Regions from separate parts of the Homo sapiens genome. Here all the other regions are linked to region 4. Evidence: promoter capture Hi-C in 16 types of primary human blood cells and fetal thymus (Javierre and others, 2016). All regions are on one chromosome and are shown on one strand. The core of a region is centred on a gene start or on the middle of the fragment in contact, and the rest is flanking DNA. Distances in the headings are between cores, read along the strand shown.

The links. Contacts are between HindIII fragments. The CHiCAGO score rates a contact against its expected background, and 5 or more counts as called.
Region 1: a fragment that was not itself captured here is called in contact with the fragment with the promoter of THAP1 in region 4 in 2 of 17 cell types (total CD8 T cells and monocytes); the score reaches 6.8 in total CD8 T cells.
Region 2: a contact is called between a fragment that was not itself captured here and the fragment with the promoter of THAP1 in region 4, in 1 of 17 cell types (activated CD4 T cells). The highest score is 5.5, in activated CD4 T cells.
Region 3: a fragment that was not itself captured here is called in contact with the fragment with the promoter of THAP1 in region 4 in 1 of 17 cell types (fetal thymus); the score reaches 8.1 in fetal thymus.

The regions. Positions count from the first base shown.
Region 1 is chr8:42,035,247-42,038,754 of GRCh38, reverse strand. The region is part of intron 2 of KAT6A (lysine acetyltransferase 6A); the gene reads left to right. Among named protein-coding and RNA genes, the nearest start is that of KAT6A-AS1, 15 kb to the left of the region's middle. The HindIII fragment of the contact is 516 bases long and covers 1,067-1,582 here.
Region 2 is chr8:41,958,716-41,961,883 of GRCh38, reverse strand. All of the region lies in intron 8 of KAT6A (lysine acetyltransferase 6A), which reads left to right. Among named protein-coding and RNA genes, the nearest start is that of KAT6A-AS1, 91 kb to the left of the region's middle. The HindIII fragment of the contact is 5,570 bases long and covers 1-3,168 here.
Region 3 is chr8:42,146,035-42,149,286 of GRCh38, reverse strand. No RefSeq gene overlaps it. Among named protein-coding and RNA genes, the nearest start is that of AP3M2, 5.4 kb to the left of the region's middle. The HindIII fragment of the contact is 901 bases long and covers 1,358-2,258 here.
Region 4 is chr8:42,841,093-42,844,601 of GRCh38, reverse strand. THAP1 (THAP domain containing 1) reads left to right here and starts at 1,277. Exons shown (of 3, transcript NM_018105.3): 1 at 1,277-1,578. The coding sequence starts at 1,508. It overlaps LOC124901940 (a long non-coding RNA gene), which reads right to left and starts at 1,668. Exons shown (of 2, transcript XR_007060901.1): 1 at 1,219-1,668; 2 at 1-835. RefSeq lists enhancers at 1,199-1,558, 894-1,684 and a silencer at 1,589-1,678. The HindIII fragment of the contact is 1,565 bases long and covers 518-2,082 here.

The DNA.
Region 1 (3,508 bases), core at 75-2,574, 810 kb after region 4:
ATAGATTATTAGAAAAAAAGACTTGTATCTTCTGCATTGTGTAGAATGTTCAGCCAGTAGCAATCTTGGATCACAGTGATTCTAATCTGATTTCACAAATAATAGGGAAATTTGAGAGCCAAAGAGGTTGAAGTGTCTTGTCCAGTGCCACACAGCCAGTTAATACCATCTGGAAGAATTGGTCAGGCCCTTCTCAATTTTGTGCTTTTTTCATTATGCTGTAGTACTGCTTTATAGTATTAGAGAGCAGTGAGCCTAAAATAATTTAGTTAGAATTCTCTTCCTTAATGGAAACCATAGAATAAACCTTGTCTAGAGAATATTGGTGGTATCGTAAACCACAAATATATAAATCTGCTATTTCAGTGTGTGAAAATAGCTATACACTCTTGTTAGAGTTTTGAAACAACTTTTTGGGAAAAGACTGCTTTCTTATGGCCCAAGTTAGAGGAATCAAGGTTTTCTTATGTTGTTGGCTAAATATTAGAAGGGGAACATGTTGAGCTACCTTAATGCTGGAAGAAAAAGTACTCCTTGAGTTTTGGGAAAAAAAGTCCATTTAAAGGTAAGTCTAATTTTCAGTAGGTCTGCAACACAAATGACCTCTGAGTGACTTGGATCATTGGTTAGAATTTAAAATTCTTGAGACTGAGCTAGAGATAGCAAGGTACAAACCTTTCTATTAATTAATGAAGTAATTTTTACCAAAGACATTAAATATGGGTGGACCAAAAGTGTATAGTCTAGCACTTCTATAAACATAGTGTCTGGGAGGAGCTTGAGAGATTTGTAATGTTACTTGTAAACAGACCGTGTGGGGAAGACCGCAGACAGCACATCATTTTTTGTCTTTATTGGTCTTTATGACTAACACTTCATCTCTGCATCACTTCTGCTTTGCTGTAAAACTTAGCAAGTACATTAGGATAGTGGCAAATAAAGATTAAGATTGAGGACAGATGTTTGTAAAATAACTGGGCGATTTTAAGATTATAGGTGTAACTTGTTAAGAAGAAGATAACTGGTGTGGAAATAAAATCTGGCAGCCAAAAAAAAAAAAAAAGCTTTCAATGTGTTAAAGAAGATAGTTGCTTCTTTTGCCGTTTACCTTTTATGTAGAATAGGTGATTCCGCAGATCTAGAGGTGTTGTCAGACTTGTACTATGGGCTGCGTTTTCCTCCAGGGAATTGTGAACTGTAGTTGACCTGAAGAGCTGCTAAGTGTTGGTTTTTAATTCTTTGAGCTTAGTAAAGTCTAGGTTCCTTTTTTCTTAGTCATTGGGTACAGTGAAGCATTTAACTCCTGAGTTTTCTAGAACCTTTAACAGAACTCTCAGAAACATTATTACTATTTTTGTGTGTGGAGTGTGATTCTGTACTTTAATAGTTTCCCAATTTTTCTATTCAGGGCATCTTTAAATATCTAACTTACTATTTAAACCCTCTTTCACCATTTTCCTGCCTTACTTTTTTCCATGCCACTCAGTTTTTCTTTAATTCTGTAACATAAATCCAAAGCCTTATTCTTTGGAAAGCAGTGGTACTTGGCACTAAATTCACTTTAGCATTACCTGAGGAAGCTTAAAAAATAAATACCAAACTAATTAAATTTGACTAGTAGTGAGGCCCAGGTTTCAGTTTTTTTTATTTTTTATTTTTTTAAGAATGTTTATCTGATGTGCAGCTGGGGTTGAGAACCATTGCTCTAATGCTTAGAACCAACATCTCTGTAGTGGGGACTGGCTAAGAGAGTCAGAAGACAGAAGAAGCAGGTACTTTTTAACCTCATAATTGACATTCAAACAAATGATGAAATAGCATGCTTCACACACACCCTCATGAACACACTTTGGACCCAGGACAGTGTACTTCTGGAAATGTACATTCTGTTTTATTGTCCTCCCTGGCTATAACTACTCTAATCTTCCACCTTTCTTTCTCCTTACCCTCACTGCTTTATCTCAAGAAGATCTTGTGTGGTATATAGTTGCGAGAAAGTTACCTGCATGATTCCGACAGGTGCCCTGCCATCACTCTAATGCTGTTCTCATTGCTTGGCCTTATGGCACATTCTCACTCACTCACTACTCCTGCATCATGTTGGCAAACTCCAGCCATTTACCACCTTCTCCTTTTTTTTTTGAGTTGGAGTCTTGCTCTGTCACCCAGGCTGGAGTGCAGTGGTGCGATCTCTGCTCACTGCAACCTCCATCTCCTGGGTTCAAGCGATTCTTCTGCCTCAGCCTCCCAAGCAGCTGGGATTACAGGTGCCTGCTACCACCCCTGGCTAATTTTTGTATTTTTTTAGTGGAGACGGGGTTTCATCATGTTGGCTAGGCTGGTCTTGAACTCCTGACCTCAGGTGATCTGCCCACCTTGGCCTCCCAAAGTGCTGGGATTACAGGCATGAGCCATCGTGCCCAACCTCTCTGCTTTAACTTTGGGGAAAATCTCATGACCATGTGGTGGGATGCCACTTACAAATTTGTGGCCTCCAATCTGAGCTCTGCCCTCTGCTTGAAGATGTATGTCTGTGTATAGTCTGTTCTGTCTGCAGAAATTCAGTATTTCTTCCCACCTTTTTTTCTCATTTTCAGTAGATACTCCCATATGCTACATCATAGAGATAATGGAATCTGTCCAATTGAGCTCATTGAGTTTATACCCCTCTCATGCCATCCTAAATACATCTGTGCTTATTTCTGCCCGCTTTGCTACCTTGTCATAGGACAGTGAAAGAAGTGTGAAAGGCTCATCTCTCCATTCTTTTTCAGGACCCCATTCTCTGCTACCTCAGGGGCCGTGTGCCATCAAAAATAGTCCCATTTTTTGACTCTATCATCTTTCTCGCTCACTTTTTAGTCCTTAGCAGGCAGAAGACTCTCCCGTTAGAGTAAAAACAACCAAAAAACCACTGCAGATCCTTCTTTCTATGTATACCCTGTCTGTTTCCATTCATTTTTAAACTTCTTGAAAAAAGTCTATATTCATTCCACGTCTGCTGCAATCTGGCTTTTGGCCCTAGAGCAGCACTATTTGAAACTGCTCTTGTGGACAGTTTTCAGTCTTATTTTACCTGAGTTCTCAGCTGCATTTAGCATTTGTTGACCATTCTTCCCTTTCCTCTGGGATAATTCTTAGATGTCTCCCCCTTCCTCCCATCTTTCTGGTAATTCCTTTTCAGTTTATTGGCGTTTTATCTTTTGCCTGTATCTAGATGTTGGATTCCCTAAGGTTCTGTTCTTCACTCATTTCTTACTGTTTTCTAGAGAGTTATCTAGAGATAACTTTCCTGAGTTATTTCTAGACCTCTGTGTTCTTTACTGATGACTCTAATTTCATATCTTAATTTGAGAGCTCTCTTCTGATCTCTGGACTTGTATATTCCATTGTGTAGTATTTTATGTCAGTCTCTTCAGATTCACAATGGCTCAGATGGAATTTATCAACTTCCTTTAACCGGCTGTCATTTCTTACAGTGGTAAGAGCCATTGCCATCGATTCTGAT
Region 2 (3,168 bases), core at 33-2,532, 880 kb after region 4:
GAGAAATTGGTTATAGTAGTAATATGTGGCCATTGTTTTGAGGTTTTTTACAGTAATTAGGAGCAGAGAAAGGGAGAGTTGGATAGAGCTGTGAGGGCTAAAGAAGATACTTTTTTTTTTTTTTTTTTTTTTGAGATGGAGTCTCGCTCTGTCACCAGGCTGGAGTGCAGTGGCACCATCTCGGCTCATTGCAACCGCCACGTCCCGGGTTCAAGGGATTCTCCTGCCTCAGCCTCCCGAGTAGCTGGTACTACAGGTGTGCGCCACCACTCCCAACTAATTTTTCTATTTTTAGTAGGGACAGGGTTTCACCATGTTGGCCAGGATGGTCTCGATCTCTTGACCTTGTGACCCGCCCACCTTGGCCTCCCAAAGTGTTAGGATTACAGGGGTGAGCCACCATGCCCACACACCCCTCTCCCCCTTTTTAAAATATGGAATGAATAACAGCTGTTTGTATGCTGATGGAATGCTCTGGTAGAGGGAAAGCTGATGATGCAGAAGATAGGAGGGGAACTGCTGGGTGATGTTCTTTGGCTAGGGAGCAGGAAGATGTTATCTCATGCACAAACGGAAGCCGTGGGCTTAGGAGCTCAATCTTTAGCCATAGTATTGGTGAAAGGCAGGATGTGTGGCACAAAGGTGGAGGCAGACAGATGTGGGTGGGAAAAATTGCAGAAGTTTTCTTTTGATTTTGTCCAGTTTAGTGCAGTAGGAAGCAAAAGCATTGGCTGAAAGTGAAGGTGGAGTAAGCAGTGTTGGAGGCTTGAGCAGAGGAGAAAGGGTGCAGTTGTCTTTCAGAACGGGAGAGTGAATGGAGTAGGAAGCATCAGGACCTGCTTGAGGTTTGTGGGTAGGTGTATAATGTGAGACTGGGTAGCATGATTCTCTGTTTTTCTCCACCCATATTCACATTAAGGTAATAACTTCGATTATGTGAAGAGTTGAATTTAACAGGGGTTAGGATTTTGTTGTGAAATTAGAAGAGAAACTAGAGAGTTAAAGGTCTATGCAAAGGGTGGAATTACAGGGAAAAAGACCTTAGAATCTAAGCTGCGTAGAGAGAAAGGAGGGTGTGGGGAGAGTGGAAAGCTGATGGAAGCACTGGATTATGGGTCCTCCGGATGGAAAAGGTAAGATGGCCGAGGACAGAATTCTAGATTTTGTCAATATTTAATGGTAAAAGAATTAGCAAAGGAGATGGATAAAGAGAAGTCTGAGTGTAGAGCAAAAAGGCTTAGGAAAAGGGAAAGATAGGTCACAATATCCAGAATCCTGAAATTTAAGGAGTCCTGAAAATTTGAAAAAAAATAATTGTGGTAAAATATACATAATGTAAAAGTTATTTTAACCAGACTTTTTTTTTTTTTTTTTTTTGAGACGGAGTCTTACTCTGTCACCCAGGCTGGAGTACAGCGGCGTCATCTTGGCTCACTGCAAGCTCCGCCTCCCGGGTTCTCGCCATTCTTTGTATTTTTAGTAGAGACGGGGTTTCACCTTGCTAGCCAGGATGGTCTCGATCGTGATCCGCCGGCCTTGGCCTCCCAAAGTGCTGGGATTACAGGCATGAGCCACTGCGCCCGGCCTAACCAGACCATTTTTAAGTGTACAATTCAGTGGCATTAAAGACATTCACCTTGTTGTGCAATCATCACCATCATCTATTTCCAGAACTTTTTTATCTTGCAAAACTGGAACTCTGTACCCATTAAACAACTCCCAACCCCCCACCCCTACCCCCACCCCTGGTAAGCATCATTCTGTCTTCTGCCTTTATTAATTTGTCTACTCTAGGTACCATAAGTAGAATTATACAATATTTGTCCTTTTGTGTCTGGCTGTTTCACTTAGCATAATGTCCCCAAGGTTCATATGTATTTTAGCCTGTGTCAGAATTGCCTTCCTTGTATTTTTTTTTTTTTTCTTTAAAGACAGAGTCTTGCACTGTTGCCCAGGCTGGAGTGCAGTTGCGCGATCTTGGCTCACTGCAACCTCTGCCTCCCGGGTTCAAGTGTTTCTTCTGCCTCAGCCTCCCGAGTAGCTGGGACTACAGGCATGTGCCATACACCCAGCTAATTATTGTATTTTTAGTAGAGACGGGGTTTCACCACGTTGGCCAGGATGGTCTCAATCTCTTGACCTCATGATCTGCCCACCTTGGCCTCCCAGAGTGCTGGGATTACAGGCGTGAGCCACCAGCGCCCAACCATTGCCTTCCTTTTTAAGGCTGGAGAATATTCCATTGTACGTATGTACCACATTTGGTTTATCCATTCATCTGTCAGTGGATACTTGGGTTGTAAATAGTGCTGCTATGAACATGAGTATGCAAATAGATACCCATATACAAAGAACTGCTTTCAGTTCTGTGGGGTCTATAATCAGCAGTGGAATTGCTAGATTATGTGGTAATTCTGTTTACTTTTTTGAGGAACCATCATACTGTTTTCCACAGCAGCTGTGCCATTTTGTATTCCCGCCAGCAATGGGACAAGGGTTCTGATTTTTCCACATCTTCACCAACATCTGTTATTTTCTGGTGTTTTGCATTTAAAAATAATAACCATCCTAATGGGTGTGAAGTAGTATCTGATTGTGGTTTGATTTACATTTTCCTAATTATTAGTGATGTTGAGCATCTTTTCATGAGCTTATTGGCCATCTGTATATCTTCTTTGGAGAATGGAAAGAAACTTTTCCAACTTTTTTTTTTTTTTTTTTTTTCGAGACAGTCTGGCTCTGTCACCCAGGCTGGAGTGCAGTGGCGCGATCTGGGCTCATTGCAAGCTCTGCCTCCTGGGTTCACCCCATTCTCCTGCCTCAGCCTCTGAGTAGCTGGGACTACAGGTGCCCGCCACCAAGCTCCTCAGCTAATTTTTTGTATTTTTAGTAGAGATGGGGTTTCACCTTGTTAGCCAGGATGGTCTCGATCTCCTGACCTCGTGATCCGCCCACCTCAGCCTCCCAGAGTGCTGGGATTACAGGCGTGAGCCACCACGCCCGGCCTTTTCTAACTCATTTTGCAATAAAGTCCCACTTGACCTGAACTGAGTTACTGACAAAAACATGATCTGAGCTGATGTGAGACTATTTGTATTCCTTACTTATGCCAGTTAATGTGAATATTCATATGCTTTGCTAAAGAAATTTTAGTGTGTCTGATTATGG
Region 3 (3,252 bases), core at 559-3,058, 700 kb after region 4:
GTGGAGATGTTGAGAAGGCAGCTGGACATATAAGTCCAGGGTTCAGGAGAGTGGGCTGAGCTTGAGATATAAATTTGGGTGTTTTCAGTATATGGATATTTAAAGTAGTAGGACCTGTTGAGATGACCGAGGGAAGGAGTGTGGAGAGATAAGAGAACCAGATTCCAGGGACACTCCAAATTTAAGAGTTCACATAAGAGAGGAGGATCTGAAATCATTTAATCCCCCCAACTACTCTAAAATGAATTACCGTTGTGATCCCCTTTTCGTAGATGAGGAAGCTGCAAAGACAGCTTAAATAACTGCCCAAGGTCGAACAGCAAAGCTGTGATTCAAGGACGTTGGAAGATCTGAGCAGAATGGCTCAGATTCCACACTTCCTACCTCTAAGCCCAGGAACCCATTGAAGAAATGTGAAGCAGGAGAGTGGCACACTTTCAGATTTCCATTTCAGAAAGACTATGTGTGCAGGATGGACTGTAACAGGCTGAGCCTGGAGGCTGGGAGGTTATTTAGACAATTGCAGTAATCCCTAGGAGAGAGCTAGTGCCTGGAGCCATGAGGCAGGGATTAGAGAGAAGTGGACACCTTCCAGAGAAGATAGGGATTAGGGATTAATGGAATGTCAGTGGTGAGGCAGAGTAGGTTTCTGATTCGGGCAATGACATGGATGGAAGCATCATGTGTTGAGATGGGGATCACTGGAAGAGAGGCCCCTTGCGGGGAGGGCGCATGAATCCAGTATATAGCAATGCCTGGGGGCATGAACCAAGTTGACACTCAAGTGTTTGTTGAATTGAATCAAGTAACATAGAATCTGAGAGCTCATGTAATACTTTCCCATGACTTTAAGAGAGGCCACAGGAAATCATTGACAAATGATAAGTCAGTCTATTTTGTGCATAAAAATCTCTAGGGAAAGATTTCCTAAAGCTGCCACTCACAAACCATTCTAATGTTTAACAGCTCTCACTGCTGAGAAATTTTTCTACCATAAAAAGTTAATCCTAGCTATCAGGATTCACTGGGAACCATTTATTTATTTATTTATTTATATTTCATTTTTGGTCTGAGACAAGAGAGGCCTTGCCCACCCAGAAAGACATTTTTTTCAGAGCTGCAACATCATTTCTGCGTCTTTGCCACTTCCTCCCTGTTCACACGTATGCTCTCCTTGCAACACACCTCACTACCGGTCATGCACTGAAGCAATGGAATGCCTTCTCCTCATGCCTCCCTTCTCACGGAGCCCTCTACCTGGCACATGTTTGTCTTTTACTCATCCTATTTTGGAAATTCGCTCCAGCCCGCAAGGCCCAGCCATATGTTTCCTCCTCCACAAAGTCTGTTTGAAGCTTCTTGCCCCCACACTGGGAGTAATGTTTCCCTCCTCTGTGATCAAAGAGCATTTCCCAGCTCTTTCATGTAACCTACAGAGCGGGCACACTCTGCCATGCATCAACATGTGCATCTGCTGACCAAATCTGGATTCTAAGCTCTTTGGGAAACCACAGTGTGTCTCACAATGTCTAGTGAACAATCACCTATTAAACTAACAGTGATGGAGTGCTTACAACCTCCTGGACACTGCGGGTACAAAGATGCGGTACTCTATGTTACTTCAAGGAACATACAGTCAAGTGGAGGGGGGATTTAAAGTGTAGACTGCTCCCCTTATCAAAACCAGGCCGGGCGCCGTGGCTCACACCTGTAATCCCAGCACTTTGGGAGGCCAAGGCGGGTGGATCACCTGAAGTCAAGAGTTCGAGACCAGCCTGGCCAACATGGTGAAACCTTGTCTCTACTAAAAATAGAAAAAAAAAAAATTAGCCCAGTGTGGTGGCATGCACCTATAGTCCCAGCTACTCGGGGAGGCTGAGGCAGGAGAATCACTTGAACCCAGGAGGCAGAAGTTGCAGTGAGCCAAGATCACGCCACTGCACTCCAGCCTGGGCCACAGAGGGAGACTCCATCTCAAAAAAAAAAAAAAAAAAAAACCAGCTCCTTTAAGCCTGGCCATGAAAGGAGCCTGTCCATGTGGAGAGGAGAGACTGAACCTGACGCCCTACTCTAGAAAAAGAGATCCGCTTTCCCCTTAGGGACCTCTCACTGCTGGCTGCAGCTCCCACCACCATACTGGTTTTGGGAGGGTCAGTATCCCTTTAACTCTTCAATGGCATTTAAGACACACTATTTTTTGTTGTTTGTTTAATTTCCTATAGCAGAGCAGAGACCAGGATGGACATTTATCCAAAGCTTGTCTAAAGACTTGAAGATAGGCCGAGCACAGTGGCTCACGCCTGTAATCCCAACATTTTGGGAGACAGAGGTGGGCGGATCACTTGAGGTCAGGAGTTCGAGACCAGCCTGGCCAACCCATTTCTACTAAAAATACAAAAATTAGCTGGGCATGGTGGCGGCCACCTGTAATCCCAGCTACTCGGGAGGCCGAGGCATGAGAATGGCTTGAACCTGGAAGGCAGAGTTTGCAGTGAGCCAAGATCGTGCCATTGCACTCCAGCCTGGGTGATAGAACGAGACTCAGTCTCAAAAAAAAAAAAAAAAAAGACTTGAAGATAACAGAAAGGAAGTGAGCAGAAAGAGTAACATGCAACTAAAAATGTAGCTCACAAATGTGATCCAATCCGGGCATCTTAGATGTCTCTATGGGATGCACACCTGCTTCCAGGGGACAGGGATGCTGTGTACCTCCTCTCACCTAGGAGCCCCGGCAAGCCATCTGGAGTTCCTGAAATCCAAACCTTGTCTGACAAGGAGACAGCAGCCTCCCTCTCCTGGTGGCCTCAGGCTGGCCTCCTGGTTCCAGTCTCCTGAGGGACATAATTATTGCACCAAATGGTCCCTTCCCCAGATGATTAGCCACAAGAATATCCAATCATGAGGCCACACCCTCACCTCAGGGGCATGGCATTATTCTGTGGCTTGTTAGTAGACGCTCCGCGGTTCTTTCTCTGCACTCTCCCTAGATGGCTTCATGAGTGTAATACCCTTTTAATGATGACAGCTCTCGATGTATCTCCAACCTCAACTGTTTTCCCCAGCTTAGTAAACAATACCACCATCCATCCAGCTACTCAAACCCATGAGTCATCCTCAAGTCCTCCATTACCCTCATCCCCTCATGTAATCAGAAGCATACCCTGTGGATTCTATCTTCAATGTACATCAGGAATTCAGAATCTCTCCAATGCAATGTCATCACTTTAGTCCAGGCCACAATCACCACTTCCC
Region 4 (3,509 bases), core at 28-2,527:
CCTCAGCCTCCAGAGTAGCTGAAATTCGAGGGCATGTGCCACCACACCCGGTTAATTTTTGTATTTTTAGTAGAGACGTTTTCACCATGTTGACCAGGCTAGTCTTGAACTCCTGACCTCAAGTGATCCGCCCGCCTCGGCCTTCCAAAGTGCTGGGATTACAGGCGTGAGGCACTGTGCCCAGCCCAATATTATTATCTTTAAAGCAAAATTAGGAATGCTTCTGTTCTCAAAATATCGGGATATCTGGACACTTGGTAGTCTGGGTCTGTGTAGTAAACATTATCAATCTGTTGCCTTAATGGTATACACATCTAGAGGCTAGGAATACCTAACTTCCCGGGAATGCAGCCCAGCAAGTCCCAGCCTCATTTTCCTAGCCCTCACTCAACACAGAGTCGCTCTAGTTCGAACCCCTCTAACATATTCTCTCTCAGGTGTGAAAATTGCTGCAGCAGTTCGCTATTTGCAACACAGCACATGGAAATCACAGCAATGGAGAGCCTTCAGAAAAGCTTCTGGGGAGGGACAGCCTGGTGGCTCAACTCCTGTAATCCCAACCCATGGGGAGGTCGAGATGGGAGGATCCCTTGAGCTCGAGTTCCAGACTGACCTGGGCAACGTGGGGAGACAACGCCTCTATTTATTTAAAAAATTACATATATATATATATATATACATACACACACACATATATACATACACACATATATACATACATATACATACATATATATAAAACGCTTCTGCGTTGGCAATTGAGATGATTTGGCGAGTGTGTCTTTTTTCATTGCTAAAAATCTGTCACGTTGGCTCTCACAGAAACTTGTGATACCTGAAGACACAGGTAATGGGATAAAGATTAGCACTCTGGGAAAAGGTTCCACAATTTTATTAATCATACACCATCTGTGTCCGCCCTTTTAAAGAAATGGGCGCAATCAGCCAACGACCTCGGCTTTACACCTGTTCTCCAAGAGGCCCTAGTTGTTCCCTACTGTAAGCTGCCCCAGAAAAGGTCCGCATCAATTAACCCACGGGAACAGCCCGGGGCTGGAGGATGCCCCAGGAATCCGGCCTCCCGCCGCGCCTCCTCCCCCCACAAGCAGTTCCTTCCTGCCTGCCGGAAGCTCAGGGCTCCGCCCACTTCGGCAACTCTGAAGCCACCGCCGGAAACACCTGGCCTCAGCCAATAGTTAGCTTCCCAGGAAACGTTACCTCTGACCTCGGGGCTAATCAGAGACAGTGGGACGCACCCCTCGCGAGAGGTGAGGTTGAAGCTGCCTCCGCCATCTTGGAGATGGGAGACGGGCGATGGCTGTGGTCCTTCTGCTAATGCAAACAACAAAACGGGCACACTAGTCACCCCCGAGGGAGGCCACCATCACTGTAACTGTTGGCCAAAGCTACAAAAGAAGCGAGGGAATCCAACCGAGCGCAGCGACACTGAGAACAGCTTCCCCTGCCTTCTGCGGCGGCAGAAGTGAAGTGCCTGAGGACCGGAAGGATGGTGCAGTCCTGCTCCGCCTACGGCTGCAAGAACCGCTACGACAAGGACAAGCCCGTTTCTTTCCACAAGTGAGGACCCTGCGCGCCTCGCGGGGCCGGTCTCAGCCGGGGTGGGGGCGCGCGGCCGGCGGGGCCGGGGGCGGAGCCAGGCGCGTGTCCGCGCGAGGGGCGGGTGGGGTCTGGGGCCGGCCGTGTCGGGCGTTTCCCACCGCGTCCCGCTGGGAACCGCCGCCCGATCGCGCGTTCTCGGCGCGCGTCGCCGCGGCAGCCGTTTCTCGCGCTCCTGGAACAGGCCCTGGTTGCAGGCTTCGCTCACGGCCTGGGTTGACGCGTTCGGAGCCCACGGGCGATGCCTAGGGTGGCGCGGGTTTTGCCACCACCAGGGTCACAGAGCAGCCAGGTGTTTTAATATGGTCTTAGGGGTAAATTTAAAATAGAAACAAAGGCCTTTAAACGAAGAAATCACTACTTTTCGCCCTTGCCGTGGATGGGAGGCCAGCATCGTAGCAATTAAGGGTTTTTTGGCTGGGAAATCAGGGAGAATTTTTGCCCCCAATCTCTAGGAACTAAGCTTTAAGGACCCTGTATTTTGGAGAAAGCTTCAGGTACTGCCGAGATAAATCGTTATCTTTTCAGCACACAATAATGATAATATGGACAGTTACAACATGGATCATAATAAAATGACTCACACGGATCTTTATTTATTATGGCATTACCTGTGCATAGAGAAAGCTCTTTCGAAAGAAACTGCCCCACAGCTTTCAGAGCTGTCTTATCCAGTAGGTAGCACAGTTAAGTGATAGGATCAAAAATATTCTCTTGAAAATAGGAAAAAAGTGCAGAGTTGTAATTACTTATGATAAACGCTTGTAAAATGTGACATAACATTTTCATTCAGCTGAATTTGTTTACAAATTTTAATTACATTTATGTTAAGTTTTCTTTGCAAGAATTCCTGACAGCTATACGCAGATGATAGGTAAGAAATCAGATCCAGGGGTAAACTATACAGATTAGCCATAGGTAATTAGCTAATTATCTTTTATAATTAGGTAAATAATTACAAAAGCAAAATGTTAAATATCTTTTCAGTTAATTTATTTTTTTGCTGTGGGGCCATCTGTGTTTACTAGGGGAGTGTCCATGCATTTTTTAAATATGTTTGATATCATGTGAGATGGACCCTATAGAAATAAGAGTGTGTAGAACATAGAGAGGTCTCCAGAGTAATAATGTTACCCCTTGGAGAAGGGGATAGAACACTTAGAGGATTCAGTTCAGGATATCCTAATATTATCTCTTGATTTAATTGGAATTTCTGTAAACATGTTCTTTCTAAATGTAGGGAAAGGTCAGGTGATGGTAACAGGATTACATGCCCAGCTCCCCACCCACATTTCTGATGGCTTGGCAGAAGGAATCTAAAATTATGGAAAATGTTTCATTGGCACTGGAAACTAGTTTAAAGAGGGTATTCACACGTCGGAAATAACTGTTTTTGTCGAGGCACGATGGCTCATGCCTGTAATTCCCAGCACTTGGGGAGGCCAAGGTGGGCGGATCACCTGACGTCAGGAGTTCGAGACCAGCCTGGCCAACATGGCAAAATCCCGTCTCTACTAAAAATACAAAATACAGGCGTACGCCTGTAATCTTAGCTACTTGGGAGGCTGAGGTAGGGGAATCACTTGAACCTGGGATATGGAGGTTGCAGTGAGCTGAGATCTTGCCCTGCACTCCAGCTTGGGTAACAGAGTGAGACTCCATCTCAAAAAAAAAAAAAAAAAAAAAAAAAGATACAACTGTTTCTGCTAGATGTTAAGCAGATATGGATTGAATCAAAAGAAGGGCTAACCTGCATCTTATCCCTTATCTAAAATAGCAGGTTTAGGGAGAGTAGATGGGAAAGATCTTAAGAGAATCTCACAAACAGCTGTAAATTTGTTGTCCTTGAGCCAGGAGGCCCTAGGTACTGAATTTTACCAGCAAATGCTACC